7 separate regions of the Homo sapiens genome follow, and all the other regions are linked to region 6. The links are contacts of gene promoters, found by promoter capture Hi-C in blood cells and fetal thymus (Javierre and others, 2016). All regions are on one chromosome and are shown on one strand. Each heading gives the region's core, a stretch centred on a gene start or on the middle of the fragment in contact. The rest is flanking DNA. Distances are from core to core; before and after follow the strand shown.

What was found. The method cuts DNA at HindIII sites, captures the fragments that hold promoters and counts their contacts. A CHiCAGO score of 5 or more calls a contact.
Region 1: a contact is called between a fragment that was not itself captured here and the fragment with the promoter of MEF2C-AS2 in region 6, in 1 of 17 cell types (naive CD4 T cells). The highest score is 5.9, in naive CD4 T cells.
Region 2: a fragment that was not itself captured here is called in contact with the fragment with the promoter of MEF2C-AS2 in region 6 in 16 of 17 cell types (total CD4 T cells, naive CD8 T cells, non-activated CD4 T cells and 13 more); the score reaches 56.0 in total CD4 T cells.
Region 3: a contact is called between a fragment that was not itself captured here and the fragment with the promoter of MEF2C-AS2 in region 6, in 6 of 17 cell types (total CD4 T cells, activated CD4 T cells, non-activated CD4 T cells and 3 more). The highest score is 8.8, in total CD4 T cells.
Region 4: a fragment that was not itself captured here is called in contact with the fragment with the promoter of MEF2C-AS2 in region 6 in 1 of 17 cell types (non-activated CD4 T cells); the score reaches 6.2 in non-activated CD4 T cells.
Region 5: a contact is called between a fragment that was not itself captured here and the fragment with the promoter of MEF2C-AS2 in region 6, in 16 of 17 cell types (naive CD8 T cells, total CD8 T cells, naive CD4 T cells and 13 more). The highest score is 26.9, in naive CD8 T cells.
Region 7: a contact is called between a fragment that was not itself captured here and the fragment with the promoter of MEF2C-AS2 in region 6, in 6 of 17 cell types (activated CD4 T cells, non-activated CD4 T cells, naive CD8 T cells and 3 more). The highest score is 6.8, in activated CD4 T cells.

The regions. Positions count from the first base shown.
Region 1 is chr5:87,842,097-87,845,167 of GRCh38, forward strand. No RefSeq gene overlaps it. Among named protein-coding and RNA genes, the nearest start is that of LINC02144, 110 kb to the left of the region's middle. The HindIII fragment of the contact is 2,550 bases long and covers 395-2,944 here.
Region 2 is chr5:87,768,669-87,771,444 of GRCh38, forward strand. No RefSeq gene overlaps it. Among named protein-coding and RNA genes, the nearest start is that of LINC02144, 37 kb to the left of the region's middle. The HindIII fragment of the contact is 1,092 bases long and covers 889-1,980 here.
Region 3 is chr5:87,808,607-87,811,710 of GRCh38, forward strand. No RefSeq gene overlaps it. Among named protein-coding and RNA genes, the nearest start is that of LINC02144, 77 kb to the left of the region's middle. The HindIII fragment of the contact is 4,366 bases long and covers 1-3,104 here.
Region 4 is chr5:87,722,062-87,725,177 of GRCh38, forward strand. The region is part of intron 1 of LINC02144 (long intergenic non-protein coding RNA 2144); the gene reads right to left. Among named protein-coding and RNA genes, the nearest start is that of LINC02144, 9.5 kb to the right of the region's middle. RefSeq lists enhancers at 1-384, 385-885. The HindIII fragment of the contact is 1,054 bases long and covers 1,188-2,241 here.
Region 5 is chr5:87,789,612-87,792,567 of GRCh38, forward strand. No RefSeq gene overlaps it. Among named protein-coding and RNA genes, the nearest start is that of LINC02144, 58 kb to the left of the region's middle. The HindIII fragment of the contact is 5,719 bases long and covers 1-2,956 here.
Region 6 is chr5:88,674,905-88,677,690 of GRCh38, forward strand. It overlaps MEF2C-AS2 (MEF2C antisense RNA 2), which reads left to right and starts at 1,314. Exons shown (of 4, transcript NR_146284.1): 1 at 1,314-1,359. The region is part of intron 1 of MIR9-2HG (MIR9-2 host gene); the gene reads right to left. RefSeq lists enhancers at 286-385, 823-1,388. The HindIII fragment of the contact is 5,913 bases long and covers 1,202-2,786 here.
Region 7 is chr5:87,825,322-87,828,256 of GRCh38, forward strand. No RefSeq gene overlaps it. Among named protein-coding and RNA genes, the nearest start is that of LINC02144, 94 kb to the left of the region's middle. The HindIII fragment of the contact is 3,297 bases long and covers 1-2,935 here.

The sequences.
Region 1 (3,071 bases), core at 420-2,919, 830 kb before region 6:
AACCCCCCATTTGACTTTGCATTTTCTGATGAGAGCACATACATCAAAATTTTTGTCATGTTGTAAGTTTTATTTCTTTCTTGTCATCTCCAGATGAATTGTACTTTACGAAGAAAATAACTACAATAAATACTGCAACCAGAAGACAGAAGAAATCTACAGTGATTCTTCTTTTTAGAAAAGTGTTAAGCAACGATTTGAAAAAATTTTTTGTACTTAATATTGCATCTTATTGCCTGCATATTCAGTTTTTAGGAAGATTGATTTAAGAGATAAACCTAAGGTTAATTGTAAAATAGGAAAAAATGGTCTTATCTCCCATCATAGTATGATTTCCCTTTCCCTGGGAGACTATTCTGTGTTAGAAGACAATCCCTGTTTTAGAGGCCATCTAAGCTTGGAGAATTCCCACCAAGATGTTAATTTTGTATTATTCCTTCCAAATATAATATCATTTCTAGTGTAGTATGGACATACTATTTTGTCCACTTACTATGTACTACATTTCTTTTTTGACAACTGCCTTCCCCTCTACTCTACCTACACTTCCTACGCCCTATATAATCTTGACTTTTGATCCAGGCAACACCACTTGTCCTTGGCTAGGCCAATACCCATTCTTGAGAATTTTTAAGTTGAGACAGAGAGATGCAGGGAAATTTCTCTTCTGGAATAAAGCTGTATAACATAAACTTAATAAGCATAGGTGACTATGTTTACATCATATGGAAAAATCTAGCTTTCCAGGAGAAAGAAGAATATATAGAGATTAAGGACAGAAAGAGTTTGAGAAACATTAGAGATACTGATTCCACATGACTTATTGCGGGGAAAGGAGTGGAGAAAGGGGCCAAGCAGTTTTCCTGCCCTTCCTACTGCTGTTAGCTCTCTTTGGAGTCCAGAAAACATCTTTTATGTTCTGTCCTGCAGAATCCTCCTGACCCAACTTCCTCAACCAGCCATGCTGTGGCCATTAATTTTGTGCAAGCATGCATCAACTTATTTAGGGTACATTTATATGGTATCTCACCAAAGGCCCAAGCTCTGTACTTACTGCTTACCACCTGGAAGTGTCTCAGATGTTACAGTGTGGGAATCTGTTCCACAGTTTTGTATGTAGATTATGGAAGTATAAGGGATTTAATGCTAATTGAGCCACTGCTGAACCATGGGAGCTGCTGGATAAAGACTTTCTCCTTTTGACCTCAAGATGTATTTTATAAGTGTTTCCAGAGGTCTCAGAGAGATCGAACAGCAGTCATCCAATTCTCTGGTGCAAGTTAGGATGGCCAACTTTATAAATCTCCCTTGATTGGCTTTTTCTCCTTCCTTGTTTTATTCCCCCTGTCCTGTACTACTGTTCCCTGGCATCACAGTCTCAGATACCCTATAAAGAATCCTTCATGTCAGCCTCTACTTTCGAGGAAACTCTGGCTAAGACACCCAGCATTCTTTCAAAAAATTTCCTTTTTGTTAGATTTCAGTCATAACTAATAGTAGCGGGTTATAAGAGACTTCATTTCCAGTCCAAGTGAAATAGCACACTAACTGTGACTTTGAACAAATTAACTGGTTATACCTCATTTGTTAATATATAAAATGGTGGTATTGGGCTCACTTCTGTGGTTCCCTTCACTCCTAAGATTCTACGATTTAAAGAAAAGCCTTCATGTCTCAGAGAAATAAATCTCTAGTGGTGGCAGGCACTGAAACCACCAGTTCTTCCTGCATGTATTTTCTGTATATCAGTCCTTGTGTCCCTGGCAACACCGTGGCTGTCAGCCCTTGATTTTCATGTGTCCCATAATCCAGAACACCAGGGAGGGAACAGTGATGGTGGTACCATTTGGGAGTGGAGTTTATAAATTAATTTCCAATCTGAATCTCTCAAGCCTCTTCAAAAGAATCTTTGAAATATAATTGGTCTAAAATTAATTATATTCTCATTTTCAAAAGTCAGAAATTCTATGAAACATTCTTGGAAGTCTCTTTTGTTTTTGAAAACATGAGTCTCATGGGACTTGAAAAAGTTCCTACAACTTTTCTTAGTTTCAAGATTCTCAAATTTGGGATTTTGACTTCAGTGAATTTCCTTGTTTTCCTCTTATATCACTCACCAGACTCATTCCTAGGGGCTTTTTGTTATTAAGGTACACCCATTCTTCAGGACCTCCATCAGCTTTAGAACTCTGTACTGTGAATTGGCATCAGACTTTCTTGTCTTTGGTGAGGACTGGTTGTATCTACAATTCTCTCTACTTTGACATCTCTTAAAAGATATGAGCAGGGCAAAAAAGCAAAAAGTTCAAACAATTATGTGGCTTGAAAAAACTCCAACTAAAAAATTCTACATACTTGGTATTGAAGAAAACATGAGGATTAATGTCCTAAGTAAATCAAAATAACTGCAGATGTTGTTGAGAGCAAATTCTTGATATCTCAGACCATTCTGAAGAGTGAGCATGTTCAACATGCAGTGAGAATTAACACAGTAAAATCACGGCAAATAACTAAAGTAAGACAGTAGAGGACAGGTTTAGCTCCACCTAGTGCCTTTGGAGCAAAGAGGAAATGGTGAAATATTTGATAGTATGACAGAAAGAATGATGTTAGAGTAAGGGGAGTCTAAGTGATAAAGATTTTTAGACAGTGATGAATCTCAAATTTGTTGTTTGATCCATGTAAAATCAGAGATGTTATGAAATCCTCTTTACTCAATAGCATTGGGAATGCAGTGATTTTTAGTAAACATGAATTTGTGCATTAGCCAATAAAAACAGAAATGATCAGAAAAATTAAAATGCAGTTGAGAAATATATTTGCTTTAGAAACTCAACTGAGTAGTAAAGCGAAGACAAACAAGTTTTTGTAAAGCATACACGAGCTCTGATTATTTTTGTTAAATGGGTTTGGGATTTAGAAGATCAAAGGAAAATGCAATAGAAGCTTCTGCTGCATAACCAGTGCTGGATTGCCCAACAAGCAGACTCCTCACAGGTTTAGGTTCTCAGCCAAGCACAGGATTGGAGGAACAAAACCAAAAAGAAAAGCAGGTACGTTTTTAATGAACT
Region 2 (2,776 bases), core at 185-2,684, 910 kb before region 6:
CTCCCCACCCCTTTAAGTGTATTTGGGAAATATAAAACCATTAAAGAAAAATTAGAGGTTTTAAAATTAGTCATGAGCATATTTCTCAAAATGTTGTGATCAAATATTGAAGTAGATAGAAAGATAAACTGGAGTCTGCTTGTGTGTTCCTAAGAATACACATTGGATGTGATTATGAAAAATTACTAGGTAGATGGCTTTGAGGCTAATGATTTCACAAGTTATTTAAATTGTCTGTCATTTAGAAGTGACAGACCTTAGTGTTCCTTCCACCTTGACTGAACTTAAGGCTTTTATCTGAAGGAGCTCTTCAATCTGAAGAGATAAAGTTGTATAACTTTCTTAATAACCACCTGGTACCTGGTAGTGAACTGTGTTCTTCCACTGGGACAAATGCCTTCTAATATTTTATATATTCCTGGTCAGTGACTTAAAAAAAAAAAAACCTACCCAATTGCAGTCTGCCATTCAAAAGGAATATTTCTGCAAAGAAAAAGATGTGAAAATGTAGGCATTCAAGTGAAAATTCAATCCTTCACAGTACAGAGCCTCTGCGAAGTCTTTTAAATGACCCTTTTTATCATGGTGCCATGTCTGTACCTTTCTGAATAGTGAGACCTGGTAAGAAAAATAGATGTATGTATACAAGTGGTTGAGTAATGTATTACTCATATGCACTTTGTTCTTTTTGGCAAACTGACCTTATCAAAGAAAAGAAAGCTATACATTGTGACAAGCTGAGCTTTACCAGAAAGTCTGAATTAGGAGTGCAAGTCCTCTGTCATCTGGATTAAAATGTGATCGGAAAAAAAAAAAAAAAGAATCATCATTTAACCTCTTCAGAAGGGGAGATGCTGGAAAATTGACTTCCTTTTAAATCAAAACCTAAGCTTTCTTATTACATTTGGACTTAGCCATCAGAGATGATTTGCATTAAAACAATTATATTATTTCCTCTAAATATTTGTCCACTTTTTGATGTTCAAATAAACAGTGTTAGATTGTTTGATTATCTATACTTTACAGAGGACTATTATAAGAAGTTTCTCCAGGACAAATGCTGTGCCTTATTTTTTACCTCTGTAGATGACACTTAAATAAAAAATTAAATTTTTGAATTAATATTGTACGGTAATTAGAAGGCCTTAATAATTTTTTTAGGAGCTTGTCCATTCCTGGAACTAGTTTAAAAAATACTATTTCCTCATGCTCATTTAACTCATTTTAGTGAAAATATTAAATTATTTTAAAAATTAGTGAAAGAATAATGAACCCAATTCATTCCTTTAAAAATAAACAGAGACATGGAATTCAAACTTGCTCATCTAGATATCTTTTTCCTTTGTAATAAGCAACCTCTTTTCAAATGAGTACATAAAGATGGACAAAATAATCTGGAATGGATAAAGCCAAGAGGAAAAAAAAAGACATTTTACATAGCACAAAGGCACATAAAACTATTGCTATTTTATTCACAGTAAAAGAGTGTGTGTTGCTGCTGCCCAGTTACTGTGCATGTGAATTCACCAGATCTAGACGTATTTGCCCAATTAATTACTCTGCTGTTCGACAATGATGGGTAATGGTCCAAGCAGCCTGCTCCTCCTCAGATCACCGATGGAATTCATGCACGCATAATGTCCTCTCTTCAGAAAATGATCCCAACAAGCTCTATAATTATTTTTTTCTTTTGAAATAAAGGCATCGATTAAATTATATGTTAAAACAGTTTGTGGGAGAAGAATTGGAAATGAAGCAGGATCTCTCTCTCACTACTTTTCTGGGTAGAAAGCTGGAAGATGAACTTCCCCATTCTACTCTTTCCAGGAGCGAACTTCGATATTAAAAAATAATTGCTGATCAAAATTGTTCATCGTTACCCTTAATTAGTCTGTTGGTTTTCAGTAGTTTTCTTCATTAACACAAATGAAGGTGTGTTCTTCCACGTTCAACGATACATGCTATCCCTCCGTGCTGGTAAGCTTATGATGTAGCAGATCAAACAAAGAACCCTCGTGTACAAATGCACAGCAGTCCCCGTAAACTGGGCTAATTAGCATTGTAATTAGCTCACGTGATAACTAAAACAAAGTCAGAGTAACACAGGAATCACTTAGAAAGGATATCAAGTGGTGTCGTCCCCCTTCACCCGCCAGCCCTCCCGCCCTTGTTTCTAATGCTGGGTAGAGCCCGGAGCCAACCTTCTTCGCAGCTCCCCACTCCCCAGCTCCCCGGCTCCCCACCTCCCCACCTCCTGGTGGTGCAAGCCAAGTTTTCTGCCGAGGCCTGGAAGTTAAGGGATGCGCAGGGCTTGCCTGAGGTTGCCATAGCGATGTTGTTGGGATATTAGTGTGGTGCACTAAATGTTGCCAGTTAAAGGAAGCTTACAAAAACATCTTCCCCCTTTGGCTTTGCTGGAATTGGCTGACAGTTCGCTTTATAAGCATGAGAACTGGAAGCAAGAGTGGAGACTTGGGCTTCCTTTCACGCAGATTTACCAGCTTACTTAGGAGTAAATGTTAAGTATAATTTGTGGAGTTCCACTCACACACTTCTACACCAACATGACTTATAAAACAGAAATCCCTAAATGGGGCCCACATGCCTAAATGGTTTTCTTTGGAATTTTACAATGTAATAATAGCTAAGGCATCTTGCTACTTGATGTGGGATTCTTTCTAATTTTATCCAATTATGAATAGAAGTTCCAAGGCTTTATTCAGAGGAAGTGAGGGCAGAGACCATCAATGAAAATCAAAAAGAAAAATTACCATTG
Region 3 (3,104 bases), core at 30-2,529, 870 kb before region 6:
TTTGAATAAATATGCAAAGATAGTTAAATTTTTAAAAGGATTGTCTCTTCAAAAAATGATGCTGAAGTAATTAAATATCTATATGCCAAAAACAGAAGAGAAAAAAATAATTTTTATTTCTCACATCATTACAAAATAATTCAAAATGAATCACAGACCTAAATGTGAAACTTAATGAAACTTTCAGAAGAATAAGGGTGGAAGATTTCTTAGGTATGACAATAAAAACATAACTGAGAACAAAATAAATGGATAAATTGGACTTCATTTAAATGTATACTTCTGCTATTTAAAAGACACTTAAAAGATAAGCCATAACCTGGGAGAAAATATTTGCAAGCCGATTATCTGCTAAAAGACTTGTGTCCAGAATGTATAAAGAACTCTCGAAAGTCTATAATAAGAAAACAAACAATTTTTTTCAATGGGCAAAACCAAGTAATATTTGTAAATGTCAAAATTAAGTATATGAAGAAAAGCACAACATTATTAAAATACTCATTAAGGAAATGCAAATTAAAATCATAATGAGACACCACTACACACTTATTATAATAGCTAAAATTAAGGTTGACCATAATAAGTGTTGGCTAGCATGTGAAAGAACTGGAACTCTCATATATTGCTTGTGGGAATGTTAAGTAGTACAACCGCTTTTGAAAATAGTTCGGCAGTTTTTGAAAAGTTAAATTACACCTACGATAGGAAGCCGCTGTTTCACTCCTAGGTCTTTACCCAAAAGAAATAAATGCATACATTTATTCTATATAAAGACTTATAAAGACTTTTTCATGAATGCTCATAGTAGCTTTATTTATTATTTATTTATAATTTTCCTTTGATTTGATACGTGATTTAATTTTATTATTGGAAATATTTTTTTATTTTTTCATTTCCATAGATTACTGGGGAACAGGTGGTGCTTGATTGCAGGAGTAAGTTCTTTAGTGGTGATTTGTGAGATTTTGGTAAACCCATCACCTGAGCAGTATACACTGCACACAATTTATAGTCTTTTATTTAAATAATTTTTTCATTGATGCATAATAGATACACATAGTTTTTTAGTACGTGTGATAATTTAACACATTCATATAATTTGTAAAGATCAAATCAGTATAATTGGGATATCCATCATTTTAAATATTTGTCTTTTCTTTATGCTAGAAACATTTGAATTATTATCTCACTATTTTGAAATGTGTAATAGATTATTGTAAACTATAGACACCATACTTATCTATCTGACATTAGGTCTTATTTCTTTTATCTAACCATATATTTGTATCCATTAACCAACTTCTCTTTCTGCCATTTTCCTTCTCCCCTTCCCAGCCTCTGGTAACCACCAATCTACTCTTTACCTTCATGAGATCCACTTTTTTTTTTAGCTCCCTCATATGAGTGAGACCAGGCAATATTTGTCTTTCTGTGTTTGGCTTATTTCACTTAACATAAAAGCAAATTTTATAATAGGCAAAAACTGGAAACAACCTAAATGTCTATCAACAGGTGAATGAACATATCCAAATAATGTTATTACTCAGAAATAACAAAAGAATGAACTATTGTTAAATATGAAAACATGGAAGAATCTCAAAATAATTAGGCTGAGTGAAAGGGGACAGACCTCCTCAAAAGCATACATTGAATGATTTCTCCTATATAAAAATTTTTAAAATGCAAAGTGATCTATAGTGACAGAAATTAGAATGGTGCTTGACTGGGGATGGGCTTTGGGAGAGGTTGGCAGGGGTGGAAGGGTGCATAACAAAGAGGCTTCAGGAAACTTGGAGGTACTAGATATGTTCATTACCTTGTTGGGGTGACTTAATGGGTATACATATATATCAAAACTTGTCAAATTCTACAATTAAAATATATGCCATTAATGTATGTCCATTATGTCTCTTGTTTTAAAAAAGAAAAAAAAAAAAAACAGAAAGAAAAATTCCTGGGCTCCAACTGCTCACAACTAAATGTGATAAATGGACTCCATAGACAATCTCAGTAACAGGTGGTAAAGTGGTACCTCAGCACTCTGCACAGTTGCTATGAAGGGCAGGGGAGAGTGTAGCTTGAAACATCCAAGAAGGGGTTCTGTAGGAAACCCATGAATTGCATGAGTGTAGTCACATCTCACATCCTACCCTCTTTTTCCATTACACCTTCACACCATACCTCTCCTGAGTTCCAATCCCCTTCTAATATATTTTCCCTTGTAGGATCAGTCTCTTACATAGACAGGTTTCAAAAAGTCAAGTGCAAGTTAATGTACACCAATAGGACTGGTCTGAAATAAAGCACAGCTCACCTTAATTCAATGTCTAACAGAGAAACAAACAGAAATACCTTTAGACCGCATTTATCATTCTTTCAGAATAAGGATCATGTGAATAAGCCCATACATTGGCCTATGGACTAGGTATCCTCTACAGTAGCTTATTTGCAACAGGAATGCTGGCTCATTGTAGCAGATTTATATTACCATTGCTCTAGAAAATAATGGTATGTCTACAACCTGTTGCTTTAGACCATTGGAAAAAACTGGCACATGCAATGACAGAGAAGGGAACATACCTCGATAGGTGGTATATCCCAAGGGGTAGAAAAACACCTCGCAGGCCAGGCTCAGTGGCTCACACCTGTAATCCCATCACTTTGAGAGCCTGAGGCAAGTGAATCACTTGAGGCCAGGAGTTTGGAAAAAACCTGGCCTACAACATCAAAAGGTGAAATGTTCTTATTGATTTTGCCAATATCTTGTCTACATCCCAGTTTCTTCTTCAGGACTTATTTGAGAGTTGGATCCCGGAGAAAGAACTCCATGATAGCCACATTCAATTTTATTGAAAAATCAATTTTCCAAATATCTTTGCACAGAAAATTCCTACTCTGTATAGATTTCAAGCCTGTAAAAGGCTAGAGAACTATAACAGAGACATACATAGTTATAACTGTATCACTTCCCTATCAAAATATTGCTAAGGGAGATAATTACTATTTTACTTTTAAAATATAAAAGCAATATATGTTTAGTATAAAGTAATGGGGTGTACATATAAATGGACTACAGAAAATAAGCATCAACAACAGTCTTGTAG
Region 4 (3,116 bases), core at 465-2,964, 950 kb before region 6:
AGATCTCTTTCACCATCTCAGTCATAATTTTGCCAACGCAGTTTCACAGTTACTGAGGAAGAAGGGCAGAGAATATTTTATCTGGTGAATCTGTGGAAATGCATCTTTCTATAGCCAAAGAAATTGCTCTGTCAGAAGGGGAAAGCAAGGAGAATATGTTATATGGGCATATTTCTATTTAACAAAACCTAGGGAAAGCTAATTGTTCCAAGCTAAGATCAGAAAGATAGAACAAAAGTGAAAAATGTGAATTTGTTTTACAAATCTTGCCGGTATCTGGATACACAACGAATGACTCATCCAGGGGCCTATTTTTGCACAGGACCACAAAGACCGGTAACTGTTTATGAGTGGGCATAAGGAACCCAGCAGAGTAATCATCTGGCAATTCAGATGCAGATTGCAGGCATGCAGGAAAAGGGTGGGAACTTGCAGCTTTGATGGGTAAAACTGCTGACTTTAGTCATAAAGACCAAGGATTAAATATGTTTGCTTTGTTAGGGATGAATCAGACTGAACAAAAATTGTCTCTAGTTGAGGTAGTTGAGTAGAGTGGCTGTGTTGTGAGTGCCTGGCAAATGTTGTTCTGTGTGAGACTGAAAAAAAAAGTCCCTACTACTGTCTCCATTGGCCAAGTAATCTTGTGGCAAACATTTATATAAATTATACAAACACTGCAATGCACTTTATGCCATGCTGTGATGCAAACTAGTTAATTAATATTATTGAACATATGGCATATGAAAGAAGAATGAGTTGAAAATGAGATATCAAATCTACATAATTAATAATATTTTGATTTAGAGGAATGGTAAGACAAGTGTCTCCAACATAGAAAGAGTGTGACTTCAGACAGGTCAGCTCAGCTTGTCTGTCTGTACAAATTGCTCTAGACCTGACACTACAACACATTGTGAGGGATAAATTCAAGGGAGAAGCAACAGCAGGAAAAGAAGGCCATTCCTTGGGGTGGGGCGGGGGGTGGAATTAAAATAACAGTAGATGCGTGTTCAAGTACTATGTTGTAGGGCCAAGATTATAAATCCTACAGAAATTTAAAGAGATCACTCAAAATGAAAACAAGTTAAAAATTTTGATGATCCATTTTACATTTGGTCAGTTGGGAAGCAATACAGTGTGATAGAAAACTAACTATATAATTTTAGAAAAATTACTCATTTCCTTTAAGCTTCAGCTTTTTTACTTGCAAGTTGAAAATCACTCTAGTAAGAATAAACAATGCTTACTGACAATATATCCCATTGAGAATTTCAAACTAGACTTTTGAGCTCGTTTATGAGCCATTATTTCACTCTTAATGCCTTACCTCTAATATGTCAATATTCATTTATTGACTGAAATCAGTGAGGCTTAAAAGTAAAACATAACTATATTTATTTTATTTTATTTATTTTTTTGAGATGGAGTTTTGCTCTTGTTGCCCAGGCTGGAGGGCAATGGCATGATCTCAGCTCACGGCAACCTATGCCTCCAGGGTTCAAGCGATTCTCCTGCCTCAGCCTCCCAAGTAGCTGGGATTATAGGCATGCACCACCATGCCTGGCTAATTTTCTATTCTTATTAAAGACGGGGTTTCTCCATGTTGGTCGGGCTAGTCTCGAACTTCTGACCTCGGGTCATCCACCCACCTCGGCCTCCCAAAGTGCTGGGATTACAGGCATGAGCCACTGCACCCAGCCAAAAGATAACTATCTTTTAAATTAACAACAAAAAATAAATTAGACAGTGCTTATGGTGATGTGATAATTGTGCAATTGCTGATGGAATTGTCATCCTTTGGAATGCAAATTGGAAATATCTATTATGCTTATATCTTTTGACCTAATAATTCTGTCTCTGTCTAAGGTATAATATATATTGCAGGAAACCTATTAGTACAGAGGTGCTCACTCCAACCTTGATCAATAGAGCAATGTATTATATGCAACAAAATAAAAAATATATAGAGCTGTTTAGGAAAATTGATGGAATATCATAAAACTACTAAAACTGACAGTTAAAGACTATAATAAAGGCAACCCAAGTGTCCATCCAAGTGAAAATAGAAGAAAAAAATGTGGTATATTCACAATGGTTTATTGTACAGAAATCATAATGAATGACATAGAGTGACAGACAACATTGGGAATAAATCTTAGTAATAAGATTATTAAATGAAAAGATAAATTCCAAAAGATTACATGCAGTATGCTCAACTTTTAAACAATCTAAAAAAAAATAAGCTTTTAAGGAGTGCATCTAAATGCAATACATGAAATAAGAGATTGGTAAGAACAGAATTTTGAATGATTGTTACCTTTAGTAGGGAAAGGCAGAGTGAGGAATGAGGAACAAAACATTTGATGTAGGTTAATATGAAGCTCCTAATATATGAGGAGATGATGGTGAATTTGTGAGAGATCTTATAGTGTTACAAATAAGTGAGTAAAAAATTAATAGGGCCTTGCATGAACATTACATAGCATTTGTCATGAACAAAGATTGTAATTCCTGTAATTATGTATACCTAAGGGCCAAAGGGAAGGAGAAGACTAAGACACATATTTTTAAAATATACAATAATTTTTAAGGATTTATTACTAAAAAATTAGGTAATAAACACAAATAATAATTGTGTTACTGTGGTGACTGTGATATTTTTCTTTTCTCTTTCAAATTTTCTAAAATATATTTTTTTAATGACAACAAACGCTTACAACTCATTAAAAAACAGTGTGTCGATGTGTATGTCAATGCACTTTTATAAACATGAAGTAGACAAATGAAATAAACTAAAATTGCTTGGCATTTCAGCAGGCTGAGGACCAATCCCCATGGCTGAAAGACCTGAGAAGGGTCACTGTTGACCTTGCATTGACAAATAGTTTAAAAATCAATCAAGAAAAAACAAATGTGACTATTTGTGAGAGTACATGCCAGATCCAATTAGTAGTGAAAACTTATATTGCCTACTAGAAAAATCTCTATTTGGCATCGACCCAGAAGGTGCAACAGTTGGGCCTCAAACATGAAAGCAATATAACTGATATGCGTTCTGGCTCAGTTATTTCTGCAAAGGTTGTATATGGAAGAATTTTAGATGAGTATACATAGCA
Region 5 (2,956 bases), core at 125-2,624, 890 kb before region 6:
ATTTCATCTCTTCATATTGTATAACTTTTTTACTTAATTTTCAAAGATTTAAATTGCGTTTATAAATTAGATTTTATTATTAAATTATTTTTTTAAGTACTCAAAATGTTACCTAATTGTTAATCAATATTTCCCATTTGTAGGGTCTCCTAGATTTGTTAGCTTAGACTTTAAATTTAGACATTACATTCTTTCAACATTTTTAAACATATGGCATTAAATATTATAATTTATAAATTTTGTTTTGTATTTTTATTTCAACACCTTCCTAATGTCATACTTTGAATGCAGATTTAAATAAAGTATTTAAATATTTAAATCAATATATCGAATTTGAGTAGAACAGTTAACTAACAAAAAATTGCCAAGTTATGTGTTGGATGATAGTTTCCTTTTAAAATATGATGTTGTGCATACATTTTTATAAATGCAGCAATTCAGTTGAAAAGTTTTAACATTTGTATATGCTAGCTGATACAGATAATTAAACAACAGAATCTGTTGCTAATTTTATTTTCATTAGATTTGATTTTTTCAAGTGGGTATCACCTGTTAATTTTGTACTGATTAGTTCAGTTCCTTTACTGATTTGTGTCTCTTAAAAGAAACCTGAGAGTTAGTCATTTACTGTATGAAAAATTTTTAATTCAGTCATCAGTTGGCAATTTTAGACTGCCTTGTATCTTAGGCAAGTAACTAGAATGTAAAATAACTAAGTTGCAATAATAGAATTTTTTAGTGTCTATAAAGTACATTTTCTGTTTTCCATTTTAAAAAAGTGCTGTAATGTTAATTCTTCTTTAGATTGCCCAGAAATAATAAAGCATAGTAGTAACAAAAATATCAAAATTTTGTTCAGTACCCTCACTGAACTAATAATACTTAAGGTAGGCCAAATCTTCACACTGTTATGTAGTTGGAGGTGTCTTTCCTGAGTACTTTCTCTTGTATCACATTTAAGAATTGCAAACAAATTAGAAATTGTTTTAGCTTTAACACTAAAATATAATAATAATTCTAATCCCTATCACTTTCCTTAAAATTGAAATGTAATTCTGTTTTGTTATTTTATTATGTAGCCTTTTGTGATCAAATTACATATAATCTCTGAGTAATTTCCATGATCTCTGACTAGAATTTCGTATGTTTAGATATTCATAAAACAACAATGCACTGTACCCAAATTGGTACTTATTTAGCACTTTTAACAATACTATAACATTATTTGAATCAATTTGTATTAGAAATAGAGTAAAAATGAAAAGTGCCACATATTTTACCCAATTATTTCAAACTGTTGATAATACAGAAAGCAGACTATTTTATAGAATTTTATTCTCTATGCATAATCACATTTTCTTCTGAAATTACTCATTTATCAAAGTGTTAAAGAAAAATAGAGATTTTTCTTTTATATCTTCCAAAGCCTCTCGAAAGACCAACTTGCAAAATTATAGTGATGTATATACAAAGTGTTATTTCCTTCTACCTGAAGAAAACATTACCTCAGTCTCATGCATATGACATCAAAATAAAAATTGAATGTTTGTTTTAAATTGAATAACCATGCCAAAAATAGTCTAAATGTTATTAGCATCTAGTCCACAAAATAGTTTCAGTTAGATTAAATATGATTTTTCCCCTAGTGATATATGTTATATTCATGTTATTTTGGTGGTGGGTGGGGGTAGGGAGGAAAAGCTATTTCTCATTTAAGTTGAAGTAACATTGTTAGTAAGATAAATTTTAGTTCAATGAAATAGATATTGGATTTTTGAAATTGAATTTGTAGTAAAATTTTAATCATCTCTTTTCATACACGTCTAATTCATAATGATAACATTTATTTGTGGTAGATTCAGTGGACCACATCTTGACAGAATGTTTCATTTGTCATGCCTGAAGTTGGTTAAGTATCCAATATAGTGCTTTCTACTTAGGGTTCTCTGCTTTCAGAATGTTACTTTCCTTGAATTCTATTTTTGAAACATTTAAGAAAATTTAATTTCCCAGGATGGGAGATTTTACAATATTTCTCTCTTGGTACTTTGTAAAATTTTGAGATTGCCTGACTTTGTCCCTGGAGCTTTCATGTGAAAATATTTGGATGTACTCAGCTATAGTTTCCCTAAGATTCAAAGATTCATTGGGGAGAAAATAAGCTATTAGTAGGACTCTTTACAGTTTCATCAGAATATCCAAGGTTGTGTACAGAAGCTGAAGGCTTTCTTTTGACCTGATAAGGCCTTCCAGTTCAATCTCAGCCCATATTCACAAAGTACATGCATTAGTTTCCTCATTCAGCAGAGAGAAATTGTAAACATCTGTTGAGAATATTCTGAGATGCCAAACTACTTCTTGGAATATTTTAAAAGTAAAGTCAAATCACCTTACATTCAATCTATATGTTAAAGTCCTAGCTCCGATTGGAGATTTCATTGGAAAGCCAGTTAGCAACATTCTTTCTCTGTTTCTCCTTACAAAGTAACTGACCACGAAGCAATGTGACATGTTAAATGATGTTTTTTGCAGCAGCTATCCTGAAAGCCTATACACGTGTTTCATTGAAGCCACTGGACTCCTCCCTCTCCAATGCTTAAAACATCTGTCAAATTCTTCTTTTGGAATAGCCTTCAAAGGGCGTTTATTAGCTGCTAGAAAAATATTCTTATTTTATATGTTTCATTTTTAAATCCAGAGCAGAAATATCTATGTTCAGCAGACTTAACTCTGTATCAGTTTCCCAAAGCCAGATCTTCCTTTATTGGACAAAGATTTTCCATTATAAAAAATGTTCGAAAGAGTGAGCAGTGGCTTCTAAAGGCAATTATCAAAAGAGGACATTTAATGCTGGTTAGAGCAATAGTAGCATCAGAAAACAAGTACTTAATATTTGGCAAGATGACCCCTTTGAAGCATTTGATTTTGATGACTGTTAGGTTATATTAATTAAAAT
Region 6 (2,786 bases), core at 64-2,563:
GATGTGCACAGGGAGGTGCCAGCGGTCCGGTGCGCGGGCACGCACACGCCGGCGCGCAGGGCTGCCGCGGGCGGAAGGAGGGGAATGACAAGGCCTCGGCCGCGTCTCGGAGAGGCACTACCTCCGCGCTGAGGCCGCTGAGTTTCAAGTGCAAAACACCAGGCCAAATCCGGCAAGGCGGCGGCTACAGAATGGCTCACACTTCAAGCCTCCTTCCTCAAACAATCCGATGGGAAGGACCTGGCTGTTCAGGGGAAGCCTTTGCTGGCCTCTCTTTTTACATGGGGTGAAGTCGAACCCCAATCTAGGAGCCCTGGCCTAGATGGCTCCGCAGATGAGTCCCAGACGTGGCCATGGAAAGACTGATCTCTCTCTGCTCAGAGCGCCTGCCTCGGTGCTCACTAGCGCAAGCACCTCCCAACACACATACATACATACACACACACACACAACACAGCACTCCCATCACATTAAAACGCGCGCTCATGATCCTGCCGTTAATGAAGCCGAGGCGCATAATGAGTGCACAGGTAAATAGGTACCGAAACCAGAAGACTTCACCAGTCGGCTGGGCGATTTACCTCTCCCTACAGGGAGCACTTGTAGTTATCGTGTTTTAGGAGTGATTTGCTGTTGTCTGTGGTCTCTCGCTCCTCTTCTTGTGGAGAGAAGCCAAAAAATATATATGTTCCGTGGTCAGAGTCTTCTTTCTGATAAGCTACCCGAGCATTGGTCTAAAACATCTGTTTTATCTGTTGATTTTGGTTTGTTGTTTTGGGGAGTGTTGCTTTTCTGAGGGAAGCAAAAGAACGTGTGTGTGGTGGGGCTGGAAGCTCAGGGCAAGAGTCTGCGTGTGCGGCCGGAAGGCTGGCGAGTCTGAGAGCCGCGCGGTGCAGAAAGAAGGCGGCGGCTTGTCCTCCCCCGGGGCCGGCACTGGTCCCTTGGCACCCCGGCCTGGGCTCGGCTACTGCCGCCGCCGCCCGCGCTCTCGGGCTCCGCCGGCTGCCGCTCCGTGTTTTCCCCCATCCCGGCTTCACGTTCAAGGTTTAGCTGCGAGGTCACGTCCATTGACGTCAGCTCCCTGTCTCCCTCTACGTCCGGCTACATTTACATACATCAAGGAAATTAGGGCATTAAAAAAATATGCAAATCCTGCGCGAAGAGGAGCGGGTGCATTCCTGGCGCGATCGCCTTTTATTGAAGCTTTTAATTAAAGGGGCCAGTTGGCGAGCCCCTGAAACAACCGCCAAAACCCCCCAAAAGAGAAAAATAAACGCTGTAGCCTTCGAGAACGGTTGTTTCGGCTCCTGTTCTGTGGGCGGCTGAGGACCGCCGGCTGCCCGGCTCGGAGAAGAACAGGTTAGAGGAGGCAGCTCCAGCCCATGCATAATCAGGGCTCCGCGGCGCCTCCATTCTTTCCTCCTCCTCCTCCTCCTCCTCCTCCTCCTCCTCCTCCTCCTCCTCCTCCTCCTCCTCCTCCTCCTCTTCCACCTCTCCTCCTCCTCCTCCTTCTCCTCCACCTCCTCCTCCTCTTCTTGCTCTCGCTCCTGTTGGTTCCAGCGTGTATTATTTTTAATACTGATGCATATGTAAAGGTATATTTGCATTTTTTAATTTGCGAGAATTTCAGATTTTGTCATTTTATTGGTTCCCTTTCCCTCTTTTTTTTTTTGGAGGATTTTTATTGTTGTTATTTTATTATGTCTATGTGTCTCTCTTGTCCCTTTCTGTCTTTTTTGGCGAGTGTCTGCTGCTGTCTCTTGCTAGATAATATACACAGTTACCTCCCTGCTTCTGTTTATTTAAGGTTACAAATATGCACATCTGTCATGTATGCAATGCCAGCTGTATAACCTCCTGGTTTGGTCATAAAGGAAAATACACATTTTTTTTTCTTTCTTGACATACCTTGATGGGCTGTAGTGCCCATCGCTCAAGGCTCAAAGTTTGATTGTCTAATTAACTTCATATTAGCAGAAACACAGTTCGGGGCCAGTGCTTTCGAGATAATGTATGTATAAGTGAAGTGATTCCAAAGATTTCTAAATAATTTTTGTGCTGATTGCCTGAGAGGTGCGGCATTCCCCGCCCTATTGCTTTCTAGCATTTCTTATTGAAAAAAATATATATATTTTAAAATGGGTAGACACAGCAATGGACAGCCTTCTGCAAGGAAGACATTTTCAACCATGTTGTATGTTGTACCTTATTGGCTGCATTCAAAATTTACTGAGTTTCATTTTTATCTTAATATGGCTGGAAACAAGGCACATTATCTTGACTGAAAAGCATCCTTGATTCCTGACTTTGAAATGAAAGCAAATACACAAATAAAACAATTGGCTATATTAAACCAGTTGATGTGGCTTAAAATATACAGGCCTTGAGTTAGATTTCAAGCAATGGTAATCTTGTTTATAGGATCGGATTCTCTTTCTTGGCAATATAGCTATGCAGCACGATGGCTTTTTTCCACCTTTTAATTCCCCCAAGCTATCATTTAAAAAAGACTCAATCTATAATTGCAAACCCTGAAAGAACAGCAAGTATGCACACATGCAGCTTATTCAATTAAACAAGTCCAAGTACATGCACAGGTAATTAGTTTTCTTATGAATGACTTACCTGCACAGATACTCAGGCCAAGACTCAGCCCTCCCCAATGGCCTTCATGTATAAATATTCACATGTATTTCCCCCTATTTCAAACCTAAAGCGGTATGCCATCTTTCATGCTGGACTATCCAGCATCCATTTTCAGCACCCTTAACTCTTATGGAATTTCC
Region 7 (2,935 bases), core at 157-2,656, 850 kb before region 6:
ACTGAAGGGTCTTTCCTGTGCATGTGGTCTGTCCTTTACTCTTACAAAGTCTTGTGAGTGTGATTATCTTGGGATATTTTCTATCTTAGTTAGAGACCATATATTTGTTCAGGAATAAAGGAAAAACACTTAAGCTGAATGGATATTTACTGTAAAGAATCAGGGATGGGCTATAGAGCCTGAAATGGCTCTGACTAGGAGAGAAACAGAACATTCTTCAGGAACCAAAGCTCTCCCTCCTCCTCTCTTTTGTTTGTTTTTCAGATGGGTCAAATAGAGTCATTGCAGGCCTGTCTTTAAGTCACCTTCCAGTTCAGAAGTTCGTTCCACTCATTGGATTTCCCACAATCCATTTCTAAATGCCCAGGAGAAGGAATCTGATTGGCCCACCCTGGTTCAATCAGCTGTGAGTAGGTAGGCAGGGCCAGGAACCAGTCACTCAGAGAAGCAGCATGAGCATGTCAGCTTTGGGATGTCAGGAAACCTGCCAAAGGGCCTAAGGGCTCTTCCTCCTCTCAGCAGGCAGAGTACATCAAGTTAATTTCCTCAGGAGTGCATTCTGATTAGAATATGCTATAATTAATTTCTGATGCCTGGAGAGACTGGATTAACCATCATGTTTATCCAAATCTCTTACAACCATTACACAGCAAAAGGATTCCTTTTGGGTTAGTTCTTCAAAAGATACACAAAACTCTTCAATCCACTCACTGCCACCACACACACGCCATATCCCCATCCTCCTTCCTGTCTGCCACCTCCCCTACATCAGAGAGAACTATAAACACAAAGAACATGTTATTGGCCTGATAGCAAAGAAAGTAATACTACCTCCCACTAACTTTATGCAAAACGATGTTGCTGACAATGAATATACTATGTACTGTTTGTTGAGTACTTTGAGTTTCTCAGATAGTCACTGTATAAATACAAGGTATTACTACTATTATTACCATGTTTAACATTTGGTTAACAGTAGGAAAGTTCTTTTACAGTCTTGGCTGTAAACTATAGCTATAAATTTTTCCCATCTTCTTTAAGGCAGTTCCAGAGGCTTTGAACAATGATACTAAAGTAACAATTCAAGTTCATCACTGTGCCTAATGAATAACAGCACTCTTGATTAATGGTACTTGTTCAACATCACACTGACAGAAGTATGAAGTGTAAAAAAATGGAGTTTCTGCCCACTGTGATTTTTTTCTCCATTTTTTAAAAAAACAGGCATCATCAGAGCTGAATTTTTTTAGGGCTTGATTTTTTTTATTACCTATTCGTCTATTCAACTACTGCTGTATTTTTTTATTTGACAAGTACTCTGCTTTTGTCTCATGCTGGTGCTTGCTATCAGAGTGTTATCACTCAAGAGATCTGCTGTAGGATCTGCTAAGCATCTCTGCAATCAGCAAGCCCTCTACTAGCCTAGCACCAGACCTCTTTCCAAGGTAGAAAAAAAGAGAGAGTCCGGGAGGGAAGGAGGCTGAACTTTGTTAAAAGGCACACACTGGTCACAGCTGACAAGGAAAGCCAGGTGCGAGAATATCTATCATGAAGCCATTGGTGAATTGCAGGTGACTAGAGGCATACTTCACGGTGCCTTATCAGAGTTTATGTATTTTACTAACCTTATTTCATTGGGTTGAAGCTATGCAGTTTTATGAGCCCCCCAATCCTCTACTAGTTGGAAATAAATTCCTCCTCGGCTATATATCAGAGAATGACACTGGCTGTTGGCCCATCTCTCTGGGCAAATTCACTGCCTGTATTTCTTCTTTTTCTTTCATCCTGGGGCTAGGGTGCAGGGTTGTTTCTGTATGACATGACATGCCAAGAAGGAAAAGTCTTGCAGTTCAAGGTGAGGGAGGCAGGGCAACCTGAGTACCAGCTTTAGCCTCTTGTTACATCCCTGTCTTGTAAATTGTTCAATCTGGTGGCGATTTGAATGGTTAGCACTGTTGTCAGCTATCTCTGCACTCCAGCTTTCCTCTCTCCTGGCAGGAACATCTGGGACACAGACTTTACAAACAGTAATAATAACCCTACTTTAGCTTTCACATTTTTGCAGTTGTTATTATGTCATCATGGTAAATGACCATAATTGACCCCCACAATGAAATGTTGCCAACATTCATATGAATAGCAACTGCAGTCTCACAGGCTAGCAGGCATGTGCTTTGCAAATAAAAAATTTGCTGAATAGCTGAAATCTCAGGTTCATTTGGGGACCTGAGTATTTCTGAATTACAATGGAAAACGATCTTTTTCTGAAACAGAGCAGTGCTGCATACAGGAACCGAAACAGGAGGTCAGGGGTAAGTATTAGAAGGATACTTCCAGGATTTGCAAGAGCCCTGTCTTTGGGGGCTGATTTATGTCTTTGGGGGCTGATTTAGATATGGAGTGATGAGTCATGAGACTCCAACTGAGCATAGAGTTCTTGTAATTGTATTTCTCATCTAAAGGGCACGCAAAATACGCACGCACGCACGCACGCACACAAAATTCCAGCATCACTGCCATCCCAAAGTTAGCATATATCTTTCCTGATGTTCTCCAGAGCTGCCATGCAGTGAGGACATAACAAAACAGTGAAAAAAGAATTGACAATGCCAAAACACATATCAATGCTCTGACTAGAACTGTACATTTTAATATTGTGCTCAGGAGGCAATTTCAGCTAAATTAGTCTTGACAATTTTTGACTGATTTGTTTGAGAAACCAGGACCAATTCAAGATGGTTGTTTCAATAAATGAATGAATGGGTGAATAAATTAACTAAATCTATTTTCTCCTATTTCTTGAGAAATCTACTTTATTACAAAATGCCTATTTTTATCATAACTTTTTTTTTTCAAACTAGGCTTGTTACCCTAAAATAAAACAATCTAACACAGAAGGCAGGTACCTTGAAATTAGCTTTACATAGATTTATGT